Regions from separate parts of the Homo sapiens genome. Here all the other regions are linked to region 1. The links are contacts of gene promoters, found by promoter capture Hi-C in blood cells and fetal thymus (Javierre and others, 2016). All regions are on one chromosome and are shown on one strand. The core of a region is centred on a gene start or on the middle of the fragment in contact, and the rest is flanking DNA. Distances in the headings are between cores, read along the strand shown. Region 1 holds the start of ZXDA (zinc finger X-linked duplicated A). Region 2 overlaps KLF8 (KLF transcription factor 8). Region 3 has its middle 6.2 kb from the start of UBQLN2. Region 4 overlaps NBDY (negative regulator of P-body association). Region 5 overlaps NBDY (negative regulator of P-body association).

The links. The method cuts DNA at HindIII sites, captures the fragments that hold promoters and counts their contacts. A CHiCAGO score of 5 or more calls a contact.
Region 2: a fragment that was not itself captured here is called in contact with the fragment with the promoter of ZXDA in region 1 in 1 of 17 cell types (M0 macrophages); the score reaches 6.9 in M0 macrophages.
Region 3: a contact is called between a fragment that was not itself captured here and the fragment with the promoter of ZXDA in region 1, in 4 of 17 cell types (monocytes, M1 macrophages, non-activated CD4 T cells and 1 more). The highest score is 8.4, in monocytes.
Region 4: a contact is called between a fragment that was not itself captured here and the fragment with the promoter of ZXDA in region 1, in 11 of 17 cell types (monocytes, naive CD4 T cells, M2 macrophages and 8 more). The highest score is 16.2, in monocytes.
Region 5: a fragment that was not itself captured here is called in contact with the fragment with the promoter of ZXDA in region 1 in 10 of 17 cell types (monocytes, non-activated CD4 T cells, naive CD4 T cells and 7 more); the score reaches 12.1 in monocytes.

What each region holds. Positions count from the first base shown.
Region 1 is chrX:57,909,144-57,911,836 of GRCh38, forward strand. It overlaps ZXDA (zinc finger X-linked duplicated A), which reads right to left and starts at 1,315. Exons shown (of 1, transcript NM_007156.5): 1 at 1-1,315. The coding sequence starts at 1,277. RefSeq lists a silencer at 483-742. The HindIII fragment of the contact is 7,022 bases long and covers 1-2,693 here.
Region 2 is chrX:56,234,109-56,236,801 of GRCh38, forward strand. The region is part of intron 1 of KLF8 (KLF transcription factor 8); the gene reads left to right. Among named protein-coding and RNA genes, the nearest start is that of KLF8, 3.1 kb to the left of the region's middle. The HindIII fragment of the contact is 3,409 bases long and covers 1-2,693 here.
Region 3 is chrX:56,568,432-56,571,124 of GRCh38, forward strand. No RefSeq gene overlaps it. Among named protein-coding and RNA genes, the nearest start is that of UBQLN2, 6.2 kb to the left of the region's middle. The HindIII fragment of the contact is 1,249 bases long and covers 747-1,995 here.
Region 4 is chrX:56,780,366-56,783,058 of GRCh38, forward strand. The region is part of intron 2 of NBDY (negative regulator of P-body association); the gene reads left to right. Among named protein-coding and RNA genes, the nearest start is that of NBDY, 52 kb to the left of the region's middle. RefSeq lists an enhancer at 2,205-2,344. The HindIII fragment of the contact is 775 bases long and covers 928-1,702 here.
Region 5 is chrX:56,818,694-56,821,386 of GRCh38, forward strand. It overlaps NBDY (negative regulator of P-body association), which reads left to right. Exons shown (of 3, transcript NM_001348129.2): 3 at 1-486. Among named protein-coding and RNA genes, the nearest start is that of NBDY, 91 kb to the left of the region's middle. RefSeq lists a silencer at 1,463-1,757. The HindIII fragment of the contact is 3,504 bases long and covers 1-2,693 here.

The sequences.
Region 1 (2,693 bases), core at 65-2,564:
CCAGGGAAAGAGCAGGAAAACAGTTCCTGTTCCCTGAAATGGGCGCGGTTATGGGAAAACAGAGCACTCACTGTGATAAATGTCTTCTTGCAGCCAGAAAACGCGCACTGGTAAGGCCTCTCGGGTTCGAAGTGGCTGCGCTGGTGGGCGCCGAGTTTGGCCTGCGTGGGGAAGCTCTCCTCGCACACCTCACATTTGAACGAGTTCTCCTGCTCATGGCCCTTCATGTGCGCCTTGAGGTTGTACACGGTGGTGAAGCTCTTGCCACAGCCCTCCGCAGGGCAGCCGAAGGGCCGCAGTTTATCGTGCGACTGCAGGTGCCTCTTGAGCTTGTAAGAGGTGGTGAAGGTCCAGCCGCAGCCACCCAGGGGGCATTTGAAGGGCCTCTGGCCCTGGCTGCTGCTGTGCGTCAGCAGGTGCATCTTCAGCTGGTGCTTCTTGGCGAAGGTTTGCCCGCACAGCGCCTCGGGGCACAGGTACAGCACCACGCCTGGACCAGAGCCCAGCAGTCCGCGGGGGCCCAGGGCGGCGGCCAGGCCCTCCGCCTCCTCCTGGGGCGCCGGAGCAGGCGCGGGTTCTGCGGGCTCGGCTAGCAGGAGGTCGGACCGCAGCTCTGGGCAGTCACCCGGGTGCGCGGCTTGCGGGAACCCAGCTTGGGGGGCGATCAGACACCTGGGCTGCTGGGCAGGAGCGGCCCCTGGCTCCCAGGCGTGTGGTGGGGGCGTGGCCAGGGTGAGGACGCCGTTCTCAAAGCGCAACAGCAGGTCCTGGTTGTGGATAGTGACTGTGCCCGCGAAGGCCGCGGCGGGGCCGGGGGCGGAGATCGGGGCCGGAGTGGGAACCGCGGACAGGCAGTGGGGGCCCTGCGCAGAGCAGCCCGCGGGGTTCGCGCCGCTCTCGTCCCCCTGGAGCCCCGGGCCCGCCTTGGCCTCCTCCCTCAACACAGGCCCTGCGGCCTGACCGGAGCCCGCGGTCTCCACGTCGCCACCCACCGGGTCAAGCAGCACCAGGAAGAAGTCGTCGCCGCCGCCGCTAGGTTGATGGGGCCTCGGCGCGAACAGGCTTGGGCCAGGGCCCCGTGATGCCGTGCTGGCCTCCTCGCGCCGCCGCCCGGGCCCGCCATCTTGGGGGCCCCGGGGCAGCAGGAGGCGGCGCGTGGGGACCTGGCCAGCCGGCGAGTCAGGGCCTCGGTGGACTCGGCCGCCACCCGCGGGGATACCGCCGCCGCCGCCGCCCTGTAGTGTCCCGCGAGCCGGGAGCAGCTTCGGGATTTCCATCTCTGCGTCCGAGAGGCTCGGCTGGAACCAGAGCCGAGGAGGAGGCGCGATCCCGCCCCCTGCCGCGGGCCTGAACACGTTCCTGAAAGGGGAAAAAAAAATGTGCAATGCGCAGAAACTGGCCCTATCAGATATTAAAATGTATTCAACGCCACAGTGATTTAAATATTCTGGTACTGGGTCTCTGGAACGGAATAGAAAGCCCAGAGGTAGAGCCTGGTATGCATAAATATATTCTACAATTAATATAAGTAATTAAGGAGGTCTTCTGAAGTAATGGGGAAATGACGACATCTTGTTCAATAATGCTGTGGAACACCTAGGTATCTATCTGGTAAAAGCAATTTTAATCCGTGACTCATTGTATATACCCAAATAAACACACGCCAGCCCCTCCCAGTGTTAGACATGTTGCTTCATACTTTTTGTGTGTTAAAATTTGTTTATTGGCTGGCTACCTGGCTGGATTGATGGATGAAAGACAATTCCTGAGAGAAAAAACTGTCTCTGTGTCAGCATTAAACCACCATAGTGCTGGCATTTCTGCGGAAATTGCCCTTCCCCTTCCCACCTCTGCGCGGGACAACTTCCATACTCACAATTGTCTTGAGCAAAGTGCTCGGTACAATTTGCCACATAGTTCAATTTTTGTCTGCTGATAACAGAGATTAGAATGAGTGAGAGATGCGGCCAAAACAGATTAGCACTCTTCAGCCTACAAATGCAAAGTCTGGAGGATGAAACAATTTATACTGAAATCTGGAAAAAAACCCAACCCGCCCCTGGCTTCTCCCTATACAGTGCACAACCTAAACCAACTCTTTGCCCTTCGACGATCGGTTGTACCATGATAAACTTCATGTCCACTCTCATAGCACAATGAGGGCATTGCTCAGTTTATTCTGCATTCTCCAGCACATTCTCTGGGCAGGAGTTCCAGTTAAATGTGTTAAGGTTAAACCCTCAGTCACTCAATGGACTCTGCCAAGTAATGTGCACAGACGATCTTGTCCACTCGCCCCGGTGTACCTGCTCACATTTAAGTGTGGTGGCCCAGTCTTGCTGGGCCTTTGGTGCCTAATGTCCTTATTAATGATGACGACAATCCTCCAATTTGTCTGTCACGAATGAGTTTGGAATTGACACAAATATAGGGTGAAATATCTGAGATGAGAAGGCTTAGAGTGATGAACAGATTGGTGGTGGTGGGGGTGGGGGGGTGTAACCTGTTGTTTAAATACTCCCAGCTCTCTCGCCCTCTTTTAATAACAGTGGACACTTGGTCTCTTGAAAATCAAGTTTTTCAACCATAACTATTCGAACCTCATCAAAATTTCTACTCCACATACTTTTCTTTCTATTACTTTTTCTGGAGGAAGCACTTTTCAAATCTGAAATTAGAAGAGTGCATATAAC
Region 2 (2,693 bases), core at 113-2,612, 1.7 Mb before region 1:
CACATCCAAACAGGTGGCCAAAGGCACCATGTCTTATTTCTTTTGGTATTATATTCATCGTGAAGAAACGCATTTATTAAGCACCTGTCACCCAGTGTGGTAATAATTGAGCAAAAAGAATAATCTTTAAATTTGGATTTGAAACTGATGGAGATTGCCATGGTTTGGGGTAATCTGCTTTGAAACCCTAGTATCACCACTTATTAGCTGCATCACCCTGGGCCTTGCTTTTCTCTTCCATAGAATGCAGATTAATAATTCTATCTCAGTAGATACTCGGGTGGATGAAATATCTTGTGTATGTGGCAGAGGCTGCCACTTGTATCTTAGTTCAACTTCCCTTTTCTACTCAGTTTGGAACTATTTTTCTGGACCACTGCTGATAAAATTAGTGTTTTTCTGTCCTTAAAACACCTTCCAGATGTGGTAAAACGAAACTTAGGAAGACTGAATTAGTTTGTCCAAAGGCTGAGGCTAGAACACAGGTTTTATTTGCTTCTGATTTAACATTGTTTCCACCAGACTTCATCACTTCTGAAAGAAAGGGCTACTAGCCTGCCTTTTCTCTCATTCTTTGGGCAACTTAACCAGAATGATATAACCAACAGGACTTTTGGACAACAGAAACAAGTGATAGGTAAATGACCTCATCCCATTCTTCAGAGTTATGGGGAAGCCCTTGAGAGTTGTTGACCTTTGGTGACTGCTGGGGACACAGAGAATGGGTGGGGAGCAATGTCTTCAGGTAAGCCTGGAGGGCAGACAGGCAGAAAACATAGGAAGAGTAGAAATAATAACCTCAAAAGTAAAAATGACAGGTGCATCTATGTAGTCCACCCTCAAGACCAACTTACTTAATGGCTGTACCTTCAGAGCCCTCAGGAGCTATACATCCCTCTTGTTTAGACTTTTCAGGGCACATTGGAAATTGGGAAAAAAATAACCATGTAGCAGACTACCATCACCACTCTCATTGTTCTAATACATGCATTTCTGAGGTGGGGTTCTCATTGGCTAAGTGAATTCCAATAACCAAAGTAGCAAACAGAGCCTAGTCATTTTTGATCTTGCCAGATTGTCTGTGCCTGGTGCGGTGGGGGCAGTATATGATCTTCTAAGATCTAGCTTTACAATGCCATGATTTTGTGAATGAAGGAAAACTTAATTAGGATGATTGACATAGATGATCATCTAGTATGATTACCATCTTATTGTTAAGTAGAGTATGAATAAGGGAATAACATTGTAGTATTGGGCTCATTTGTTTATTCAAAGACAGTGTGAGATCATGTTTGGTATTCTTCCTGATTTTTTTTTTTTTTTTTGACACGGTGTTTCGCCCTTGTTGCCCAGGCTGGAGTGCAATGGCGTGATCTCGGCTTGCCGCAACCTTCGCCTCCCAGGTTCAAGTGATTCTCCTGCCTCAGCCTCCTGAGTAGCTGGGATTACAGGCATGCACCACCATACCTGGCTAATTTTGTATTTTTAGTGGAGACGGGGTTTCTCCATGTTGGTCAGGCTGGTCTCGAACTCCCAACCTCAGGTGATCCATCCACCTCAGCCTCCCAAAGTGCTGGGATTACAGGCATGAGCCACGTGCCCAACCTCTTCCTGATTTTTATATGCTAATGTTTACTATCCTCAACTGAGTTTCATCATTTAGCCTGTTTCCTCATCTCTAAAATGACATGATAATTTGTGATTATAAATAATGTAAGGAAAGCATTGAACTCAGTGCCTGATATCTAATATGTTTCATAAGTTGCGGTCTCATCATTTTTGTTATTTAAAAAAATTTGTTTTATTTAAATGCTGCTGTGTGTTTGCAGAAGTGGAATGTAGATTAGTGGACAGGAAGCTGGATTTAAATATATGAAAGGTGCTAGATGTTCTGTATAATATACTAAAAGATGTTATTTGTGTATTTAGACAAAATAGATGTGATGTGGGCAAACTAAGCTCTAGGATTATTAAGGAGCAATAACCTAACTCAAGAGCCCAATCCAGATATTTCAAATCACTAGCAATTTGACATTTTGTTGTAACCTCACACTCACCATTTCTAATATACAGCCCATCATCACCTCTGGACTCTTCACTCATTCCTCATTCAAGACTCTTCCTTTCACTTCCCTGGTTCTGCAACTTACTATGACCATAGTAATGGTGAACTTATTTAAACTCTGTACTTTAGTTGTCATATCTGTGCATTGGGGATAATAATAGACACTACCTCATAAGGTTGCTGTGAGGAATAAGTGTGTTAATTTTGTAAACACTTAGAAGGCGGCATGAAAGTGAAGCAGTGGGAAAATGTAGCTGTTGTGGTACTCATGTCCCTTTCCCCTCTTCCTCATTTTCTCATTTAATTAGATGCCAATGGCTGTTGTATTTTTTCCCCTTTGTATCTGGTATCTGTTTCTTTATTATTATTCTAACTGCCACCACCTTAATTTAGGCGAGACGTGCAAACAATTAGCCTACAGACCAACTAAAGCTCACACGTGTTTTGTTTTCCCTAAAATTTAAAAACTTTCAACTAAAACATGCATTTTCAATTGGTAATGCATTCCGCCTGGCTCAAAATTCAGTATTTACTAAAGGGTGCATGGTGAAAAAAGTCTCCCTCCTATTCCTGTTCTCTAGCCACCCATTTTGCCTCGCTGGAGGCAACTAATGTTATCTATTTATTA
Region 3 (2,693 bases), core at 121-2,620, 1.3 Mb before region 1:
GGAACAGGAAATTATTTTATTAGCTTTGCCAAATGTTTATTTTTAAGTGTATTTTGTTTTCTCTTGGAAAAGATCCACGTCTTTACTTTATTAAGTCTACTATTATTTTGCTTATAACTTCATTTATTTTGGCCTTTTAAAAATTACTTTTAACTGTTCTTCCTCCATCTCTTACATGATGTAATTTCCTCCTATTATGTTGCAGGTTCTTTTTAAAGGCTCTGTTTTTGTTTTGGGTTTTCTTCATCTACTATTGATCCAAGATTTATCCATTTATTCATCATTGAATCAAGAAGGGTATATCCTGACCTGCTATCCCTCCCCCTCCAACAAGAGTGGAACAATTATTTTGTATCCATTCACTGTTTACTGGGTTGTCACCCCATCCAACAAGAGTGGAACAGTGTTTTTGTATCCATTCCCTGTTTACTGGGTTGTCACCCCCTCCCAATGGCTCTGCGATCCAGCAAGATGTGGTAGTAGGGAGGGAGCTAATGCCAGGGGCAAACCCAGCAGGATGACTTCACCCTCAAGACAGCTTTCCTCATTTGCTTTTGTCCTCTGTTTCAGGTACGTGATATCATACATACTTTCTCTACTCGTGTGGGAGGGGAGGGGCAGGGGGCATATACACAACTTGGAAACAAAACCTGTTGGTTCATTAAAGGGGACTTTTGCATCAAGTTGAGATCTCCATGCTAGTTGAGAAACTAGGATCAGGAGACACCTGTATTTGGGTGTGGACAAGCTTGCCCTCTGAGAGAGGACAGCCTGCTCCAAATTATGTTAATCTGCAGTGTCAAAATAGGACCAAATTGACTAATTCCTGTTAGGGCCAAGCCTAGTGATCAGGGTTGAGATGTCAGGAAAGCCATTTGGCCTGTGTCTTATAATTCAAAAAGGGATTCAAATTCAGACTTTTGACACTATCCTAAATGAACTGATAACTCTAGCCACAAAGCCAGACTGACCTGATGTAAATGTTTGTCATACAGCTTAATTTAGTATATGTAAAGAAATTAAATTATTTGGCAAATTTGATATTCCTAATTGAGTATTATTAAAAAAATATACTGAGGCCAGGCACAGGGGCTCGCTCATGCCTGTAATCTCAGTACTTTGGGAGGCCAAGGTGGGCAGATCACGTGAGGTCAGGAGTTTGAGACCAGCTTGGCCAATGTGGTGAAACCCCATCTCTACTAAAAATACAAAAAAAATTAACCAGGCGTGGTGTTGCACGCCTGTAATTCCAGCTACTCAGAAGGCTGAGGCACGAGAATCACTTGCACCCATGAGGCAGAGATTGCAGTGAGCTGAGATCACACCATTGCACTCCAGCCTGGGTGACAGAATGAGACAATGCCTCATAGAATTAAGGACCTATTCTCATGCCACCATTTTCCCAGAATTCTGTTAGAAGACTTAGGGGAAAAGCAGTTTTCTGTAAATAGAAAGGAGAAGCATGATTCAGCAGATATCAGACTGAAGCCACCTCAAAGAGCAGGCGTCATCAGGTGGTGCACATGCTTGCATAGGCTTTACACACTTTGACCATGGGTAAAAACCCTTGGCAAAAGCTGCTGTAAACCAACAAGTTCAAAAGTTTGGGTAATGTCATTTTAAAAAGGAGTTGTTTGTCCCAGCATACAAGGACAACATTTATTTGTCCAGTGGGTATGAATCGAGGCATATAGCTCCAGCTGTATTGAGGTATCTGAGCACAGATTTGAGCTCCCTAAAACAGCACTTTTGGAATCCATATTTAGAACTGTGTAGATTAGCAAACTTAAGATAATTTCAAGAAAGATTCTGTAATTCATTATTAAAAGCATGGTTGATGAGCTTGAAAGAAAGAAGAAAGATGATTACTCGGCCCTAGCATGTATTTCACAAGATTGCCAAACTGAATTTTGTTAGGTTAGAATAACAATAATAGCTAACATACTCATTGCTATGTTCAATCTCGTAGTAGCTCTGTAAGGTAGCACAATTACAAGCTTCCCCAGCTTACAGATAAGGAAATAAGCTGAATGAGACTAAGTAACTTGAGCAAGGTCACACTACTTACTATTAAGTGACAGAGTCAAGGTTTGAACCCAGTTCTGAGATTCTAGACTATGCTCTTAAGCAGTACATTATACTGCCTCCCCTTAAGTCTATTAAACTATACTGGTCTGTTAATCAGAGATTTTACTATAAGTTGTATACTAGCTGGCCTCCTGGGTGTTGTTCGGGAGAACATTGGCTCTTGTTAAATAAATACATCTCTGCTACTGTTCACATTGGAGCAGTCTACACAAAAATGCACATGTGAGAGTCAGCTCTGTCATAAATCAGTAACTGCAACTTAAGAGCTTTGCCTTTCTTACTTTCAAGATGTGGCTAATATTTGAAACTGCCCTTAAATACATCCGTTTATAGTGGCCTAATACATAACAGTATGTCTCCAAAAAAGCAATCACATGGGCCACTTGTACTTCAGGTGCTCTGGAGGATGCCTACCTTTTTGCTGAACCGCCTTCCAGAGATCTCAAAAGGCAAACATTATGTACCTCATCAAGCCGTTTGGCAGTTTCTCATAATATCCTTGAGATTAAAATGGAGTAACAAGATGATAATGACAGGACAGTAGATGGGTTAATAATTTGAATTGACAGTGTTCAACAATATAGATATCAAAGTGATCAAAGGTT
Region 4 (2,693 bases), core at 65-2,564, 1.1 Mb before region 1:
TTAGGGTCTCCAGGCAGACATAAGAAAGCCTGATGCGGGACATCATACAGTGCCCATGTTGGGATGCGAAGCCGCGACCGCCTTGCTCTAAAGGTTGCATAGGCTACTCATGCCGCTGGGTGCCTGGACAGCAGCATGGAACACAACGCTCCCCGAATATTGCAAATGTTTTCTGTCTTGGCTTGTTACAAATCTTCCTGGATGTGTAGGCCACCCTGGGGACGAGCAGCCCTTCTTAGGGCAGAAAATTCACCCCACGGGTGATGATTCCCACGCTGGGGGTGTGTGAACCACTCTCACAAGGAGGAATGTCAATCTCGTGAGCGGGCCTGCACTCTCACGGCATTCCGGGCAGAAGAACCACATGACCATGGAACAGGAGTCACCCCCTTTCTGTCACTTGTCAACAAATGCGGATTTTTTTTTTTTTTTTTTTTTTTTTTCCTCATATGTAGGTAGCATGCACCAGGGTGCGCCTCTGGCGGTGCCTAGGGAGAACGCGAGAAGAAAAGAATGCAGGAAGATCTGGACTGCGTCTTTAGGGTTGGCACTGGGACTGTGAGTGTCAGAGGTCCTCGGTTTTAACTTTTAACTCCCATCACATCTCAACTGTTTCCTTGTCAACAAATGTGTGTCCTTTTCTCATAAGTGTATACCATCCACCTCGGGGCCCCTCCTTTTGTGCCTTGGGACATCGGGTGAAGTAAGGAACGCAGGAACTTTGGTGTTGTTAGTTTTAGTGTCAGAGGTTCTTGTTTTTACCTTTGAACATCAATCACGTCTGAACTATATCCTGTCTTCATCTGTGGTTGCATAGGTCCTCAGGCACATACAAGTATCTTCTCCAGTAATGACAAGCTTCTGCCTAGACACCTTCATTCACAACTGTTTCCCGTCATCTAAGCAACCCTCAGGAGGTAGTTGTTAAGCTTTCACGTTCCCTCCTGTTCATTTTTCTTATTGCTTTCTCTCTGCCTTCCCAATATTTGCTGATGGAGTGTGCGGGATGGGGTTGAGGTGTGGGCAGCAGGGAACAGGGCAGTCTCCTGGCCCAACAGATCTTTGTGCAGACGCGGTACAGACCCGGGATTTAGGGGCTTATGCTTTCTTCTGGCTGGCGCCTTATCCTGTGTGAGGACACAGGAGGCTACTCACAGGGCTGTCAGCTTTCCATATGATGAACTCTGCTTTCCAGTTTACTCTGTAACTCATTGCTCACTCTGATTCTTTGTGTACTTTTGGAGTTTTCCTCCCTTCACTTTTTTCTTCTTCACTGTCTTTACTTTTCGTCCGCTTCTGTTTATGGAGGTCACAATCAGCCAAGAAGGCAGGGTCAGTTATGCACGGGGACATGGTTAAGGAAAACAGGCTTACTGTTTCTAAGGAAATTAGAAGGACTCCAGCTGAACCCTGCGAGGAGAAGTTGGCATTTCCTTATTCTTTCTGCCGTGTCTCCATATTGCCATGGGTGGCTGATTACCTCTTTTCCCTGGTGTCCGATTCCTCCCCGTTTTTCATCTTTTTCTTTTGGGTGGTTCTTCACTGCCTTGGTTTTGTAGACTTTGGGCTTGGTGGCCCCTTGCAGTCAGCTGATGACATCCTCAGGGTAAGGTTCAGCCTACACTTGTGTACTCTGTAGTTCTGCAGGCCAATTTGTGGATCAAAGTTTTGATCCCACTCAGGAAAGATCCCATCGACAAGAAGCTTCTCGTTTGTATGTCCTTTAAACGGGAGGTGACCTGGGGCTCCTTGTCACTCATTGTGTATGTCACCACACACTGAGGTCTTCCTTAACTAGATCCTTCAGGACAGCTACAGTGGCATGGACCTCCCACTTTCTGTTCTTGTTCTCTTTCTGGTTATTCTTCCTCTTCCTCCTCCTACTCTTTTAATTCCTCTTCTCTTTTTTGTTTTCTTACTCTTCCTCCTCCATCTTCTCCTCCTCCTCCTCCTTCTTCTTTCCTTCTCCTCTTCTTTTGCCTCTTCTTCTTTTTTGTCTTTTGCTTTTGCCTCTGCTTCTCTTTTTCCCTTCACTTTCAGATCAGGACAGACAAGTGTTCTAGGAGACTGCTTCTTCTTTTGCTCCTTGGTGATTCAGCATGTCTCTCTGCAGTACTAGGCCTAGAGAAAGCTTCACTTTTGTTCTTAATTTAGCACTGATGAAGGTCACCAGTTTAGTCTCTCTGGTATACCAAAAACCTTCCCACATGTTGCTTTTAAGTGAAATGTCATGGTGAACAGATCCTTTACCCAGTTCCTCATGGCTTGCTGTTATTTCCTGTTCTGTTCGTGGATGCACTAGGTGTGTAATCCTGAGCCATTAGGAAGTTTGGCAAGTTGTCCCGTGTCTCCTTTTTTTTCAGTCCAGCCATGTGAACACATTGATCCGGATTTCAGTTTTTGCAGGGTGTCTCCGCCACATGCCCATTTGCCCACTCTCACTCACAGAGGCAGGCACCCACAGACCACAGACACAGACACAATACATACACTCACAAGGGACCCCCCAATCAGAAATTAAATCACAAACACACACGCACATGGAGACTCATGCACACACAGACACAAACACACACATTAAACACGCCTAAGCGGACACACACACAGATACACACAGACACACACACACACACAGAAGTAAGCTCACACTAGTACAAATGTGCGGGTTTAAGCATTATCGTACACAGACACAC
Region 5 (2,693 bases), core at 79-2,578, 1.1 Mb before region 1:
AGTTCATATGAAAATGTAATGGACCCAGAATAGCCAAAACAATCTTGAAGTATACAAAGTTTGAAGAGTCACATTTCCAAATTTTAAAACTTATTACAAAGCTACAATAAACAAGTCTATGTGGTACTGGCATAGGATATAAATATTGATCAATGAAATAGAATCCAAAGTCCAGACATAAGCCCTCACAAAAGTTAATTTGCAGCCAATTAACTTCTGAGAAGGAGGCAAGACAAAAGGGGAAATAACTATTTTCAATAAATGGTACTGGGACAACTTGGTATCTACATGCAAAAAAAAAACAAAAAAACAAAAAACTTCCACCCCTACCTCATGCAAAATACAAAAATTAACTCAAAATAGGCCAAAGACTCAAATATAAGGGTTACACTATAAAACTCTTGGGAGGAAATATAGAATAAATTTTTGTGACCTTGAATTAAGTATTAGATTTTTAATTCTTACACCAAAGCACAAGTTAATAAAGGAAAAAAAAGATAAACTGGACATAATTAAAATTGAAAAAAAATTTGCTTCAGTGAACACAGTCAAGAAATTTGAAAGACAGCCACAGTGCAAGATTATTTTTGCAAATAATATGTCTCATAAATGACTTGTATCTAAAATATATAAGACCAGGCATGGTGGCTCATCCTGTAATCCCAGCACTTTGGGAGGCTGAGGCAGGGGGATCACTTGAGGTCAGGAGTTTGACACCAGCCTGGCCAACATGATGAAACCCCATCTTTACTAAAAATACACACACAAAAAAAATTAGCAGGGTGTGGTGGTGTATGCCTGTAATCTTAGCTACTCAGGAGGCTGAGGTGGGAGGATAGCTTGAACCTGGGAGGCAGAGGTTGCAGTGAGCCAAAATTGCACCAATGCACACTCCAGCCTAAGCAACAGGGCAAGACGCCATCTCAAAAAATAAAACAAAATAATAAAATAAAATAAACAGTAATTACCGCTAAATAATAAAACAAACAATAAACCAATTTTATAACGAAAGGATCTGAATAGATTCTTCTGTAAAGAAGACATACAAATCACAAATTACACATGAGAAGATGCTCAACACTATTAGTCATCAGGGAAATGCAAATCAAAATCACAAAGAGACAGCAATTTATACCCAGTAGGATACTTATTATTATTATTATTTTAAATAGCAAAATAATAAATGTTAGAATGTGGGAAAACAGGAACATGCGGCATTGTTGCTGGTAATGATAAATGTGCAGCCACTGGGCAAACAATTTTGTGGTTCCTCTCTAAGTTAAAAATAATGGCTGGGCGTGGTGGCTCACACCTGTAATCCCAGCACTTTGGGAGGCTGAGGTGGATGGATCACCTGAGGTCAGGAATTCGAGACTAGCCTGACCAACATGGTGAAACCCCATCTCTACTAAAAAATATAAAAAATTAGCCCAGCTACTCAGGAGGCTGACGCAGGAGAATCCCTTGAACCTGGGAGGCAGAGGTTGCAGTGAGCCGAGATCCCACCACTGCACTCCAGCCTGGGCATGACAGAGCAAGACTCCATCTCAAAAAAAAGAAAAAAAAAAGAAATAACATGCTACCCAGCAATTTTACTCCTGATACATAGCCAAAATAACTAAAAAACAGGTGTTCAAACAAAAATTGTACAGGACGGTTTACAGCAGAAATATTTGTACTAGGAAAATGTGGAAACAACTCAAATGCCCATCAACTGGTGAATGGAAAACAAAATGTATATTCACACAATGGAATATTAATTTAGTCATATACAGGAAATAAGTATACATACTGCCAGAATAAACCTTGAAAGCATTATGCCAAAAAAAAAAAAAAGGAAAATAATTCTTGCCTGGTGGTCTGGGAAAAGCAAAAGCATTATGCTATGTGAAAAAAGCCAGTCACACAGTACCATATATTATATAATTTCATATAAATAAAATGTCCACATGAGGCAAGTCTATAGGTTCAGAAAAAATATTTGCTTAAGGATGGAGTTTCCCTTAAGTTATGATTGAGAATTGATGTCTAAGGACTGTGTGATTTTATTCAGGGTTAATGAAAATGCATAAGAATTGACTGTAGTGATATTTACACATATCTATGCTTATCTATAAATATCCAAAACCATTGAATTGTACACTTTAAATCACGGATTGTATTATATGTGCATATCTCAAGTTGTTTAAAACAATAGATGTCTGGCTAGCACCTCCCAAGGCAGCCTCTCCCAACTTTTATTTTATTTTTTTGAGACGGAGTTTCACTCTTGTTGCCCAGGCTGGAGTGCAATAGTGCAATCTTGGCTCACTGTAACCTCCACCTCCCAGGTTCAAGGAATTCTCCTGCCTCAGCCTCCCGAGTAGCTGGGATTACAGGCATGCACCACCACACCCAGCTAATTTTGTATTTTTGGTAGAGACAGGGTTTCTCCATGTTGAGGCTGGTCTCGAACTCCTGACCTCAGGTGATCCGCCCGCCCCTTGGCCTCCGAAAGTGCCGGGATTACAGGCGTGAACCACCATGCCTGGCCAGCCTCTCCCAACTTATTAAATTCCTATGCAGCAAGATGGCAAAATGGAATTCTTCAGCACTCATAACCTTGCAGAAGTATCCATTTGAACAACTATTCATGCGCAAAATTACCTTTACAAGGCCTAAAGAAACCAAGTGAGAGATTACAGCACCTGGGT